5 separate regions of the Homo sapiens genome follow, and regions 2, 3, 4 and 5 are each linked to region 1. The links are contacts of gene promoters, found by promoter capture Hi-C in human tissues and cell types (Jung and others, 2019). All regions are on one chromosome and are shown on one strand. Each heading gives the region's core, a stretch centred on a gene start or on the middle of the fragment in contact. The rest is flanking DNA. Distances are from core to core; before and after follow the strand shown. Region 1 holds the start of IGDCC4 (immunoglobulin superfamily DCC subclass member 4). Region 2 has its middle 7.7 kb from the start of CLPX. Region 3 holds the start of SLC24A1 (solute carrier family 24 member 1). Region 4 overlaps INTS14 (integrator complex subunit 14). Region 5 overlaps HACD3 (3-hydroxyacyl-CoA dehydratase 3).

What was found. The method cuts DNA at HindIII sites, captures the fragments that hold promoters and counts their contacts. A contact is called where the count stands out against the background at its distance.
Region 2: a contact is called between a fragment that was not itself captured here and the fragment with the promoter of IGDCC4 in region 1, in 1 of the 25 tissues and cell types used here (mesenchymal stem cells).
Region 3: a fragment that was not itself captured here is called in contact with the fragment with the promoter of IGDCC4 in region 1 in 1 of the 25 tissues and cell types used here (spleen).
Region 4: a fragment that was not itself captured here is called in contact with the fragment with the promoter of IGDCC4 in region 1 in 2 of the 25 tissues and cell types used here (adrenal gland and mesenchymal stem cells).
Region 5: a fragment that was not itself captured here is called in contact with the fragment with the promoter of IGDCC4 in region 1 in 2 of the 25 tissues and cell types used here (heart right ventricle and mesenchymal stem cells).

What each region holds. Positions count from the first base shown.
Region 1 is chr15:65,421,601-65,424,237 of GRCh38, forward strand. It overlaps IGDCC4 (immunoglobulin superfamily DCC subclass member 4), which reads right to left and starts at 1,347. Exons shown (of 20, transcript NM_020962.3): 1 at 1,193-1,347. The coding sequence starts at 1,262. RefSeq lists enhancers at 250-359, 380-649, 1,625-2,159. The HindIII fragment of the contact is 12,230 bases long and covers 1-2,637 here.
Region 2 is chr15:65,191,763-65,194,399 of GRCh38, forward strand. No RefSeq gene overlaps it. Among named protein-coding and RNA genes, the nearest start is that of CLPX, 7.7 kb to the left of the region's middle. RefSeq lists an enhancer at 309-603. The HindIII fragment of the contact is 3,805 bases long and covers 1-2,637 here.
Region 3 is chr15:65,621,759-65,624,395 of GRCh38, forward strand. SLC24A1 (solute carrier family 24 member 1) reads left to right here and starts at 180. Exons shown (of 10, transcript NM_004727.3): 1 at 180-334; 2 at 2,197-2,637. The coding sequence starts at 2,323. It overlaps LOC102723464 (a long non-coding RNA gene), which reads right to left and starts at 2,201. Exons shown (of 2, transcript XR_932375.3): 1 at 1-2,201. The HindIII fragment of the contact is 5,071 bases long and covers 1-2,637 here.
Region 4 is chr15:65,603,004-65,605,640 of GRCh38, forward strand. INTS14 (integrator complex subunit 14) reads right to left here. Exons shown (of 12, transcript NM_001394796.1): 3 at 2,126-2,233. Among named protein-coding and RNA genes, the nearest start is that of INTS14, 6.8 kb to the right of the region's middle. The HindIII fragment of the contact is 4,583 bases long and covers 1-2,637 here.
Region 5 is chr15:65,559,130-65,561,766 of GRCh38, forward strand. The region is part of intron 5 of HACD3 (3-hydroxyacyl-CoA dehydratase 3); the gene reads left to right. Among named protein-coding and RNA genes, the nearest start is that of HACD3, 30 kb to the left of the region's middle. The HindIII fragment of the contact is 6,557 bases long and covers 1-2,637 here.

The DNA.
Region 1 (2,637 bases), core at 97-2,596:
CCCCCCGCCTCCCTCCCACGTGGCCTGGCTGAGTCTCTCTGGAAAGCCGCAGCAGCTGGAGAGAAATCCCCCTCCCCACCCCCACCTCCAAGTCCCTCCCCGACTCTCCCCGGACACATCCTCAGCTCCCCCCTCCGCGGGGAAGGCAAGAACTAGGCGAACAAAGCGGCCAGCCCATCCCCCTCCCAGCCCTGCCACCTACACTCCCCATGAGCCGCCCCCAAACGCACACCGGACAGGAAGCGACAGAGCTGTGGGTGGAAGCCGCAGCCCTAGACACACACCCTTGGGGACTTCGCTATCCCCTCCCCAGCCCTTTCTCCAGCTTGGACAACTCTGACTTACCCCGTACCCACTCCGCACTGGGCTGCGGACTGGATGAGGCCCTGCTGACCTCGTCCACGCTTCCCTGGTCGGTCCCTGGGGGGTGGGGCCGGGGTGACACGCGTCCCATCGTGAGAACAAGCGCTGGACATGTCCACGAAAGCAAATGGTTTCCTGCCCCCTCCCCCAGTCCACTGCTGGCCACAGGTTTTGGGGAGCAACACCTCCCTCTACCCCTCTCTAACCGGCCCCAGGGACCACACCCACTGGGCAAAGTTGAGTGTTGTTTTATCACCACCACCCCCAGTCAAACGGGATCCATCGCTCTGTCCCCCACTATGGGCAAGGACACTTCCCAAATGCCAAGGCCAAATATTAGCTCAGCCCCATAAACACAATTGCACACGCACCCGACCCAAATGGAGGTGCAGACACAACCCCAGTTCCCTCCTCTTTTACACACACTCTCAACCCAAGACACGCGCAGGCAAGGCAGAGCCCGCCCCGCGAAAGCCACCGACACCGCAGCTACCCGCCCCGCCGATGCCACGCCGCGACCATGGCACGCACTGCGGACACGACAGGAGCACTCCCAACACACACACACACACACACACACACACACACACACACGACTCCAGACTCTGCGAACCAAAGGCACACACCCACTGCGGACAAGCACGCCCCACAAACGCCCCCCGGCCGCAGCTCGCAGACCCCCGCGCAGGCATCGCGGGCACCTGGACGCGCAGCCCCCGCACTTGCTCGGGACTCCGGCTTGAGCCAGCCCCGCAGCCCGATGCAGACCAGGGCGCGGGCGCACCAGCACTCCGCAGTCGCTCCTGCCTCTCCGGGCGCCCGCCCTTACCGCGCGCGGCCAACAGGCAGAAGGTCAACGCGAGGAGCCCGCGGCCGCGGCCGGCGTCCCCCCGCGCCATGGGGCTGGGCTCGGGCCGCCGCCGCCGCCGCCGCCTCCCCGTGCTTCGGCCGCCGCCGCGGGGGGAGAGCGCGCCGGGCGTCAGTGGCCCGGGGAGGCGCGGCGCCGCGGGCGGGGGCGCGGCCTCGGGGGCCCGGGCCCGAGCTGGGGCCGGCGCGGGGGCCAGGGCCGCTGCCGCCTCACCCGCCCCTCCATCGCCATCTTGGGCGAGCGGCCCGGGAGGGGGCGCCCGGCGAGTGTGGCCACCCTGGCCCCGCCGGGGACCCTGCGCCCGCGCGCCACGGCCCTGCGCCTCGCGGGGGCTCCTCTCGGCCCGGGTCTGTGTCCCGGTGCCTCGCCCTCTCCGGGTCGCCGCGGGCCCCCGTGAGGCCGCCTGTTGCTGGGTCTGTCTCTTAGTCTCCCCGTCTCTGAGTCTTCTGGTCTCTCTGCCTCAGCGTCTCTATTTCTTCTCCCTGTTGCTGCCTCGGGGTCTCCACCTCCGTTCCAGGCTCAGGGGAGGCAGATTCAGGGCCACGGTCTTTGTCCAGATGGCCCCCTTGCCACCCGAGCCCAGTCCATTCCAGCCCAGGTCCTGGCCTGAATGCTGGTTCGCTTCTCCACACGTTGCGCCAGCCCACCTGCGGAGATCTTGATAGTCCTATCTGCCATCCCAAACCAAGGGCTTCTCTTGGCCTCCTTCCCTTGCTCTGGCAGTAACTAACACAGGCAGGACACTTTTACACTACCTTCAAGCACTACCATATTCAGATGTCGCCGCATGGGGAAACTGAGGCTGGAGAAGGTGAAGTGACTTGCCCAAGGACAGGAGGCTAGGGAGCAGCAGATACAGGACCTGAACCTTGGTTTTCTGACTTCGGAAGGTCATCTCCACTCCCTCACCCTGCCTCTGCTGTCCAGCATTTACTGAAGTACCCTTTTTCTCATTCTTCAACGGTACTTTCTCTAACCTACCTAGCCAGACTGTTTGCCTCAGTATCCCGCAAATATTTCTTGTTCTACAGCCAAGGGTTCAATTGTCAGGCTAGGGTGGGGAAAAGAGTACAGATTCAATGACCTAGTTAAGGTCCTTTCCAACTCCAAGATGCCATAGTTCTTCCCTTCCCTGTGTCTCTAAGTGTTCCTGTGACTTAGAGCCATCTTGTCTCTACACCTGTCTGTTGTCAGTTAACCCTCAATAATCACTGGCGCTTTGCATATCTAACAGGCCTGGCGTTTATTCATTCATTGCCACGCCCCATCTTCACTTGCCCTATCAGCAGCATTTGACTTAGTGAATCACTCCCTCTTCCTTGAAACACTTGCTTCCCTTAGTGATCTCATCTGGTCCTCAAGGCTTTAAAGAGCATCTTTATGCTAATGATGCCCAAATGTATACT
Region 2 (2,637 bases), core at 66-2,565, 230 kb before region 1:
ACCTCCGCCTCCTGGGTTCACGCCATTCTCCTGTCTCAGCCTCCTGAGTAGCTGGGACTACAGGCGTCCGCCACCACGCCTGGCTAATTTTTTGTATTTTTAATAGAGACGGGGTTTCACCATGTTAGCCAGGATGGTCTCGATCTCCTGACCTGGTGATCCACCCTCCTCGGCCCCCCAAAGTGCTGGGATTACAGGCGTGAGCCACAGGCGCCTGGCCAATTTTTGTATTTTTAGCCATGTTGGCCAGGCTGGTCTTGAACTCCTGACCTCAGGTGATCTGCTAGCCTCCGCCTCCCAAAGTGCTGGAATTGTAGGTGAGAGCGACCGCCCAAGGCCTTAGGACTGCCCTTTATATGCCACACCCCCACCATGGACACAGTTGACTGGACTAGAGGCAAACTGCAGCTGGGCCAACCAGATTGTCTCTCCAGGGAATTTGATTGGATAGCAGGATTGCCCTGTATTTCCCACCCCTGCCATGGCCACGGTTGATTGGACTAGAGGTGGAGCCCCAATTCAAACTGGGCCAATCAAATTCGGTCTTCAAGACAGGGCTATTCATTGACTTGAGATATAAATAGGGTGGCCACCTTCTTCTGTGAGCCCAGAGGAACAGAGAAAGCATATCTGCAAGCAGAACCAAGGGTTCCTGCAGAGAGGAAAGACCACACAGTGAGAGGGAGAGACTGCAACAGAGACAGGGGCTAAGAAGAGAGAGAAATTGGCCGGGTGCGGTGGCTCACGCCTGTAATCCCAGCACTTTGGGAGGCCGAGGCGGACGGATCACGAGGTCAGGAGATAGAGACCATTCTGGCTAACACGGTGAAACCCTGTCTCTACTAAAAATACAAAAAATTAGCCAGGCGTGGTGGCACCCGCCTGTAATCCCAGCTACTCGGGAGGGTGAGGCAGGAGAATCGGTTGAACGTGGGAGGTGGAGGATGCAGTGAGCCGAGATCGCACGACTGCACTCCAGCCTGGGCAACAGAGAGAGACTCCGTATCAAAAAACAAAAAACAAAACAAAACAAAACAAAAATAGCCTGGCATGGTGGCGGGCGCCTTTAATCTCGGCTACTCAGGAGGCTGAGGCAGGAGAATTGCTTGAACCCGGGGGGCGGAGGTTGCAGTGAGCCGAGATCGCGCCATTGCACTCCAGTCTGGGCAACAAGAGCACAGCTCCGTCTCAAAAAACAAAAACAAACAAACAAAAAAAAATAGAAATAAAGTCAGAGAGACAGTCTGAAAAACAGAGCATTGTAGGCCAGACGCGGTGGCTTACGCCTGTAATCCCAGCACTTTGGGAGGCCGCGGCGGGTGGATCACGAGGTCAGGACATCGAGACCATCCTGGCTAACACGGTGAAACTCTGCCTCTACTAAAAATACACACAAAAAAAGTTAGCCGGGCGTGGTGGCGGGCGCCTGTAGTCCCAGCTACTCGGGAGGTTGAGGCAGGAGAATGGCGTGGACCCGGGAGGCGGAGCTTGCAGTGAGCCGAGATGGCGCCACTGCATTCCAGCCTGGACAACAAAGCGAGACTCTGTCTCAAAAAAAAAAAAAGAAAAAAGAAAAGAAAAGAAAAAGAAAAACAGAGCATGTAACCCAAGATTGAATTAGAAATTGAGAGAACCAAAGCCACCGAGCATGAGAGAAGACAAGTTAATTGAAACCAGAAAGAGTGATTACCTGGATTCTGATGGCTCTGCAATTCTTGGTTCCAGTCCTTCCTGAGGTTACCTGGCACCCCTGTTACTTGTAATCAAAAGACTGCCAGTGCACAGTCCCACCTCTATTCTTTGGCTCTAGCCAACACCTTTACCTGAAACCCCATCTACCTCTAATTTTGCTTAAGTCCTCTCAATCCTTCCAGACTCTGTTCTTGTCCCAACATCTTGGTGACATTTTTCTCTTATCACGTCAGCTGCTAGAACTCTTTGAACTTGAGAGAACATTGTTTGAAAACTCCCTTGTTTGTAAGCAGAAGCAACCTGATCTGCCCATCTACCTGCCTGTTCCCCTCCTCCATGCCATATGGTACCGACCTTCACAGAATTCGCACTCAGTAACTGGGTGATCAGAAGGCTGAGACTGAAACGCTAGGGCTTTCCTGAGATGAGCATTTTGTCCATCCAGTGTGCAGTCTCCACAGGGGAACAACCGACAAATCAGCAGTGGTTTAATGAACTGAAAGCATCCTGGGAATGGTGCTATTAGCCTCACTGAAAATCATGAAAAGGGCTTTAGAAATCCTTCATTTATAGGTGAGTAAATTGAGGTCCAGGGGAAAGTTATGCAGCTAGCAAGGAGCACATTTGATTTTGGAGGCAAGACTCTTAGGAATTAAGTATCATGAGTTCAACTCAAGAATGCTGGCTAGGCCTGGCGGCAGTTCACACCTGTAATCCCAGCGCTTTGGGAGGCTGAGGTGGGTGGATCACCTGAGGTCAGGGGTTCAAGACCAGCCTGGCCAACATGGTGAAACCCTGTCTCTACTAAAAATACAAAAATTAGCTGGGCATGGAGGTGCACACCTGTAATCCCAGCTACTCGGGAGGCTGAGGCAGGAGAATCGCTGGAACCCCGGGGGCAGAGGTTGCAGTGAGCCAAGATCGCACCACTGCACTCCAGCCTAG
Region 3 (2,637 bases), core at 76-2,575, 200 kb after region 1:
AGTTCCTCCATTGACTTTGTGGGCCCACAGTGAGCCCCTCTGTGTCCCTGGTGGAAGGCCCACTCTCTCAGGCTTGGTCAGGTGTACCGGGACCCAGAACTTGTACAATGCCCTGATAAGCTTCTTAGAGGAGGTGGGTATTAGCCACGATCGGATATTCTTCCCCTGAGCTGCCCTTCACACCCGACCCTGCCTTGAATTAGGATTCCATAGGAGAGCTGGGGGCAGGAGAATGGGGTGTTCCCTGCTGTCCAGCTTCAGACCCACTCTTTGAGATATTGGATTCTGACAAGTTTCCAGAGCTGAGAAGACAGCCAGATGTCAAGGTCTGAAGGTAAATGATGTAATTAGGTAGGAGGGATCAGCTGGGGTGCCAGTTCAGCTCTGTTACATAACACAGGAACATTAGAAAGAGAGAGACCCTCTGAAATTTCTGCTGGGGATACGAGTGGGCTTGCTGCAAAGTGTTGAGTTCATGGCAAGGATCGGGGGGCTGCAGGGAGATAGTGGAAAGAAAATTATAGAAATCAGGGACAAAGAAGGAAGTTCACTTATTCCTACTTTTCCTTTTGCTTGTCCCTCTCTTGCTTTTTAAGACAAGTACCTTTGCATCTCTGATTAGTGTGGCATGCAAGAAAGAAAGGGGAGTTAGGAGGCTCATCTGCTTGGCTACTCACTAGCTGTGTGATGTTAAGCAAGTCACATCTCCTCTCTGGACCTCTGTGTTTTCATATCTCAGATGAGGAGTTGTACCAGACAGATTCCATGGGTTACTCAGCTCACTTCTAATATATCATATGCAAAACTAATCATTTCCAGTTATTGTTTTGTAGTAGTTTGTGGACATTAATTAGAGATTTAATAAATAGTTACTTGGGCTGGGCCTCAATGCCCTTCTTTATAAAATGAGGATTCTTTGAGGGCCTTTCATGTTCTTCCCTCCTTCATTCTTGTATAAAACTAACCTTTCTGTTCAGTGCTTTTCTTTTTTTTTTTTCTTTGAGACAGAGTCTTGCTCTGTTGCTCAGGCTGGAGTGCAATGGTATGATCTCAACTCACTGCAACCTCTGCCTGCCAGGTTCAAGCAATTCTCCTGTCTCAGCCTCCTGTGTACCTGGGATTACAGGCATGCACCACCACGCCTGGCTAACTTTTGTATTTTTAGTAGAGATGGGGTTTCACCATGTTGGCCAGGCTGGTTTTGAACTCCTGACCTCAAGTGATCCGCCCACCTCAGCCTCCCAAAGTGCAGGGATTCCAAGCATGAGCCACCGTGCTCAGCCTGTTCAATGCTTTTCATATGTTTTTACTCGCTCAACATTCCTGTGACACTGTTATTATTCATATTCTAATTTAATTTAAATTAAAAATATTATAACATGCACATGATAAAAAGGTCAAACTAACAGAATATACAGTGAAAATAAGTCACCTTCTGACCTTTGATCCTCAGTTTCCCTTCCCCAGATGTCCTTCTAGAGATTATCTTTGCATAAACAATATATATGTTATCATGCCCATTTCACAGATGAGGCACCAAGGCTCAGCCTGTCCAGGATGACACAGCTGGTAAGCAGCAGAACAGGGAGTCTAGGCTTTCAACTCCATTCCCCATGATCCTCCCACCATGCCATATTCTCTGGGAAGCTCTATAACATTAACTTTTAAGCTTTGCCCACTCTGGATGGTGGAATTGTTTTAAGTCAGTTCAAAAAAATACATGGAGCCTTAATGTCCCTGGCAATGCCCTCCACTGCTGCCTCTTTTTGTCTATAGCTTAAAGCCATATCTCCCTACCTCCTTCCTGCCTTTGATAAGGTGAGACCTGTGGCCTGACACCAGCTATGGATGACTGAGCTCCCAGGATCTTAGGCTTGGACCTGAAGAGTACTGGCAGATCTTTTGCTGAGAGCCCAGGGAGGACTTGGTGGACTCCATAGTGCACTCAGGCTCCAGCTCAGGAACCTGGGGGGCTGGCATGCCTACATAGTACAGAGGACCCCTAGGCACTCTTTCTCTTAAGAGTAGGCATTTTCCTCTGGAGCAGGGGGCAGGAGTAGTTTACTCTTGCAAAGACCCCATGCATGATACTTTTGTGTTCCTGGGGCTTCTATTATCACTTTTTTCTATATGAGGGTGTTATGGATCCCAGATCTCCTCTTAGTGGTAAATAATCTCTTTTTTTTACCCACCTAGGGTTGTGGATACCCCCTGGCTGGGCTTCATGGAGAAATCTTCTCTGATCACCAACCTGAATCCCAGAGTAGCCTCCATCTTAGGACAGAATGAGAGGCCTTCTGTAACCAGATATAACTGGCCAGCATGGGGAAATTGATCAGGATGGGGCCGCAAGAGAGGTGGTTACTCCGGACAAAGCGGCTTCATTGGAGTCGCCTCCTCTTCTTACTGGGAATGTTGATCATCGGTTCTACTTATCAGCACCTTAGGAGACCCCGGGGCCTTTCCTCATTGTGGGCAGCAGTCTCTTCTCATCAGCCTATAAAACTGGCCAGTCGGGACCTCTCCAGTGAAGAGATGATGATGATGAGCAGCAGCCCTTCAAAACCTAGCTCCGAAATGGGGGGTAAGATGCTGGTACCCCAAGCCTCAGTGGGCAGTGATGAAGCAACACTGAGC
Region 4 (2,637 bases), core at 47-2,546, 180 kb after region 1:
AGAAATAGCAAATGAAACTGTGCTACTTGCTAGCTTTCAGTTCAGAAGATACTGACAACAAAACTTCATTTATTCACTATAATGTTAGGAAATAAGACATCCTATATGCATGGATTTACCAAAATAAGTAATGCCTATAAGCTGAGATGCCATAAAAAGCTTTTTTATTTCAGAAAAGAAATTGATCAAAAGGCATCTATTGATTTCTTCAGCAAGTATCCACTATATTCTATAAAACAGGGAGGTTTTCACAAGAAAAAATGTTTTTGTTGTTTTCTAAAGGTGAGTTTATTGAGATATAACTTACATGCAGTAAAATCACCCTTTTTAGTATACAGTTCTATGAGTTTTGACAGTTGTATTCAGTCGTGTAACCACCCCCACAAACAAGATAAAGAATAGTCCCAACACGTCCCAGATTCCCTCCTGCTTCTTTTGAGTCAATTCATACCTTTCCCTGACTCCCAGGCAACTACAATCTTATTTTTTTTAAGACAGGGCCTCACTATGTGGTCCAGGCTGGTCTTGAACTCCTGGGCTCAAGTTATCCTCCCACCTTGGCCTCACAAAGTGCTAGGATTATAGGTGTGAGCCACCATGCCTAGCTACAATCTTTTTTTTTTTTTATTAATAAATAAATACTAGTGATGCTACTGACATTACTGAGGAATCCTTTGTTTGACCCCATAATGAAAAGTCACACACCAGGGTCCAGCCAACCATGGCCCACAGGCTAAATTTGGCCCACTGTCTGTTTTTGTAAATAAAGTTTTATTTAAACACAGCCCTACCCATTCATTTACTTATTATCTATGGCTGCTTTCATGCTATAACAGCAGAGCTGAGTAGTTGCCACAGACACCTACAAAGCCTAAAATACAAAAAAACTTGCGGACTCCTGTTGTAGACTATTATGATTTTTCTTTTAGCAATGTTTCTGCTTTTTCCTTCAAAATATGCTACTACTTTTCAAAAGTATCTGTATAGAACAAATTTCCAGTTATCTTTTTCTGCTACTACTCTGCTCTGATTTGATACTAATGTGGCCTACTGTGGAGTCTAAGTAAAGAGCAACAGACTTTATGTTTGTTTGTTTTTGCCACACAGTCTCGCTCTGTCGCTAGGCTGGAGTGCAGTGGCGCAATCTCGGCTGACTGCAACCTCTGCCTCCCACGTTCAAGTGATTCTCCCGCCTCAGCCTCCAGAGTAGCTGGGACTACAGGTGCACACCACCACACCCAGCTAATTTTTGTATTTTTAGTAGAGATGGGGGTTTCACCATGTTGGCCAGGATGGTCTCGATCTCTTGACCTGGTGATCCGTCCACCTCAGCCTCCCAAACTGCTGGGATTATAGGCATGAGCCACCGCGCCTGGCTAGATTTTATGTTTTATACTCCTCACTTTTTAGACAACTCAGTTGAGATGGTTAAGTTTGCTGAATAAAGCTGGGCACAGTGGCTCACCCCTGTAATCCCAACACTTTGGGAGACGAGGTGGGCGGATCGCCTGAGCCAGGAGTTTGAGACCAACCTGGGCAATATGGCAAAACCTGGTCTCTACAAAAAATGTAAAAAATTAGCCAGGTATGGTGGCATTTGCCTGTAGTCTCAGCTACTCAGGAGGACGAAGTGGGAGAATCACCTGAGCCTCGGTGGTTGAAGCTACAGTGAGCCATAATAGCTCCACTGCACTCCAGCCTGGGCAACAAAGTGAGACCCTGTCTCCAAAAAAAAAAAAAAAAAAAAGTCTGCTGAATAATTGCATTGAGATAATGAAGACAGGCTATATTATACTGATGTTTACAATTTTATCACTCAAAATTATAATGACCCCTTCCAGGGATTGTAGTTCAAAAATTCCACTGTGAGCCCTTTGTGTTTTATATAACAGTACTAGTTTGCAATAAGTCAATTTACTAGGAGGATGCTTTCCTTAAGGCATAACTTTGCTGCTTTCTGAACACATTAGTGTTGATTTAGTACCTTCACTTAAGAAGATACCAATAGTGTAAAATGTAGTTTGTAGAAATTACAATGCATGCTGTGTCAGAGCCTGAAGAAAATCGAAGCACCTCAGTGGTTAATGTTGTTAACTTAGGGCAATGAAAAAGAATTGATCATTACCTGGCAAGGAATTGCACCACCCCATTCTTGCTGAACGATATTGCAAACACCAACTAATGCAGACTCCAAGCAGGTTTTGTCATAATCATCCATATTACTTAGTGCTTCCTTATTGAATAAAAGATAAAATTGCTAGTTACTCTTTAGTTTTAATTAGGTATTAGAAAACAACATAAATTGTTCAAAGTATGAATGTTACACAGGGGACACTGATGTATCTGAGAGCACCAAAGCATAGCTTCTTAAAGAAAAATGCTAGAACAGACTTCTTCAACTATTAAAGATAGTTAAAAGAATTCCATTTATTCTATCCTCTTATCAGGTAAGAGTGAACAGTCCACCAAGTTTACATTTTTGTTAAGTGGACTTTGAAGGAAAAAATTAAAAGGAACTTTTAAACACATCACAAAAATAATAACAAAATCTATTGAATATTAACTATGTTCTAAACACCATCCTAGGCACTTTTATGCATTTAGCTATCACAATAAAACTATAAGGTATAGATTATT
Region 5 (2,637 bases), core at 71-2,570, 140 kb after region 1:
GTCAGCCTGAAAGATGGAGAGTATTCTGTGTAGTCCTGCTATTCATTAACCTTTAACAAATCAATTTCTGTTTCCGTCTAACCACTTTAAGCAGGAAGCTCTGTAAGTGTATTATCTTCTGGGTGATGTAGTTAGATTAAATTCAGCAGCTATCTGTTAAAGTCATGCTGTGTGGCAAGCATTGTGCTGGGCCCTTGACTAAGAGCCAGAGGGATCCATCGTAGCGCCTATACTCAAAAGGGCTTACATTCTTAGTGAGGGAACTGCAGGTGTATGTAAAACTACCTCTGAAAAGCAGAATGAAATAAGTCCTTCTTACTTGTTCTAAGTTGAAATTTTTCAAATTTTAGTGGTACTTATCTAGCATGCCATAAATAAGGGAGGGGAAAGTTTTGGAGCAGTAGTTTTCAAACTGTGTTCCATGGTGCCCCAGGGGGTTCCCAGAGATGCTTTGGAGGAGTAGATCACACAAACAGGTCTACCTCAGTCAGAGCAGCTCTCTTTTGAGTGTTATGTGTTGGCATTCCGAATAAGGTTTCTTTTGAGAAGGAATTTTAAAAAATATTTGAATAGCGACTACCTTAGGGGAATATTCTTTCAGGAAAGCCGAGGAGGGGAGAGGTTCAGTGGAGGCAAAGAATAACAACATAAAAAAGCCACTTTGAGATTTAAATTAATGTTTTGGTGTCTTAAAGGGATAAACTTCAAAAATAGATAAAAATTCTAATATATGGATTTTTTGGGTGTTAGGTAAAGCTTTAACTGTTTTACCTAAATTCATAAAGTTTTCTGAACAAGGAAGTTCTTTATGGTGGGGAAGTGTAATAGATTTTTGTAGTTTTGAAGAAATAACTTTTAATTAGCTAAATGTTGCTAGAAGTCTGACATTTTTTGGAGTCTTAGGATAAGGCTGTGTTGTTTTTTTTTTTTTGAGATGGGGTCTTGCTATGCTGTCCAGGCTGATCTTAAGATACTGGGCTCAAGTGATCCTTCTACCTCAGCCTCCCAAGTAGCTGGGATTACAGGCATATGCCACTGTGCCTGGCTTAGGCTGCTTTTGATTGACCACATTATTAAATGTGATTATTTGAGGACCAACCAGATGTCTTTGCAGAATATCTGTAGCCTAGGAATAAATATGTAGCAGCAAAATCTGAACACCATAGATCTCCTCTTAAGAACTGTCCTTTTCTTTACCCTACTCCTTTGACTCAACAATGACTCTGTCAAAGCCTCTTGTTTCTTCCTTTACTCTGTAATTGGCTGTATCTTCATGAATCTTAGGCTGCAGATAAAATTAATGTCCCTTATTTTCCTGCATGTTGGTTTGAAATTGTCCTGCTTTGGTTATGTCCTCAGTCTGCCCATCTTTCAAAGCCCAGATCAGGCCAAGTATGATGGCTCATGCCTCTAATCCCAGCACTTTGGGAGACTGAGGCGGGAGGATCTTTTAGGCCAGGAGTTCGAGATCAGACTGGGCAACGTAGCAAGACTGTGTTTCTACAAAACATAATGGAATATAAAATTAGCAAGGTGTGGTGGCACAGACCTGTAGAACTAACTACTTGGGCGGTGAGGTGGGAGGATGGGTTGACTCCAGGAGGTCAGGGCTGCAGAGAGCTATGGTCCCACCACTGCATTCTAACCTGGGAACAGAGTGAGACCCTATCTCAAAAAAAAAAAAAAAAAAGCCCGGATTAGATACCAGCTTTATCCATGTAGACTAGCTTGATGCCTACTTCTCCAGCCTAATGTCGTTTTTTCACCTTGAAAGTTTCACAAGACATTACTTGTTACTCCCCACCTGGTATTACAGTTTTTAGATTGTAAGCTCTGAGGGCAGCCTTGAACTACCTTTGTATCCCAGTAGTTCTTCTCACAGTACCTTGCACATTGTAGGTATTCAGTTAATGCTTGGTTGAGTGAATATATAACCAAATATCAGGGTTGTTTTTTTCATTTACTGTATCTGTCTCTTTGAGCTAGTTTGACCTCAGTGACCTTAAAGAAATTCCAGAAAAGAAGAAACTATGGATTATATTAAGATGACTGGAGGGCCAGGCACGGTGGCTCATGCCTGTAATCCCAGCACTTTGGGAGGCCAAGGTGGGCAGATCACCTGAGGTTAGGAGTTTAAGACCACCCTGGCCAACATGATGAAACCCTGTCTCTGCTAAAATACAAAAATTAGCCGGGCGTGGTGGCGGAAGCCTGTAATCTCAGCTACTCGGGAGGCTGAGGCAGGAGAATTGCTTGAACCTGGGAGGTGGAGCGTGCAGTGAGCCGAGATTGTGCCACTGCACTCCAGCCTGGGTGACAGAGCAAGACTCTGTCTCAAAAAAAAAAGAAAAAAAAAATTGAGCCGGAGCTGAGGAAATCTTTATTTCCTTTTTGTAATGCCTCTTCAGATGGCCACTCATTTTTTTGCCAGGTGTTATGGAAAAAATACAACACTACAACACTCAACTGCTTTTTCCTATTTTCTTACTCAACAACAATCAACACAGAAGACTTCTGTGACCAAGTGGGTGGGTTTTTTCCCCCACATACCAAGCAAGCAATGAGTTCTGCAGCAGACACCAGCTGGGTGCCCTCTGGTTCAATTCTGACACTGTTTACCTAGAGATAGCATCAGGT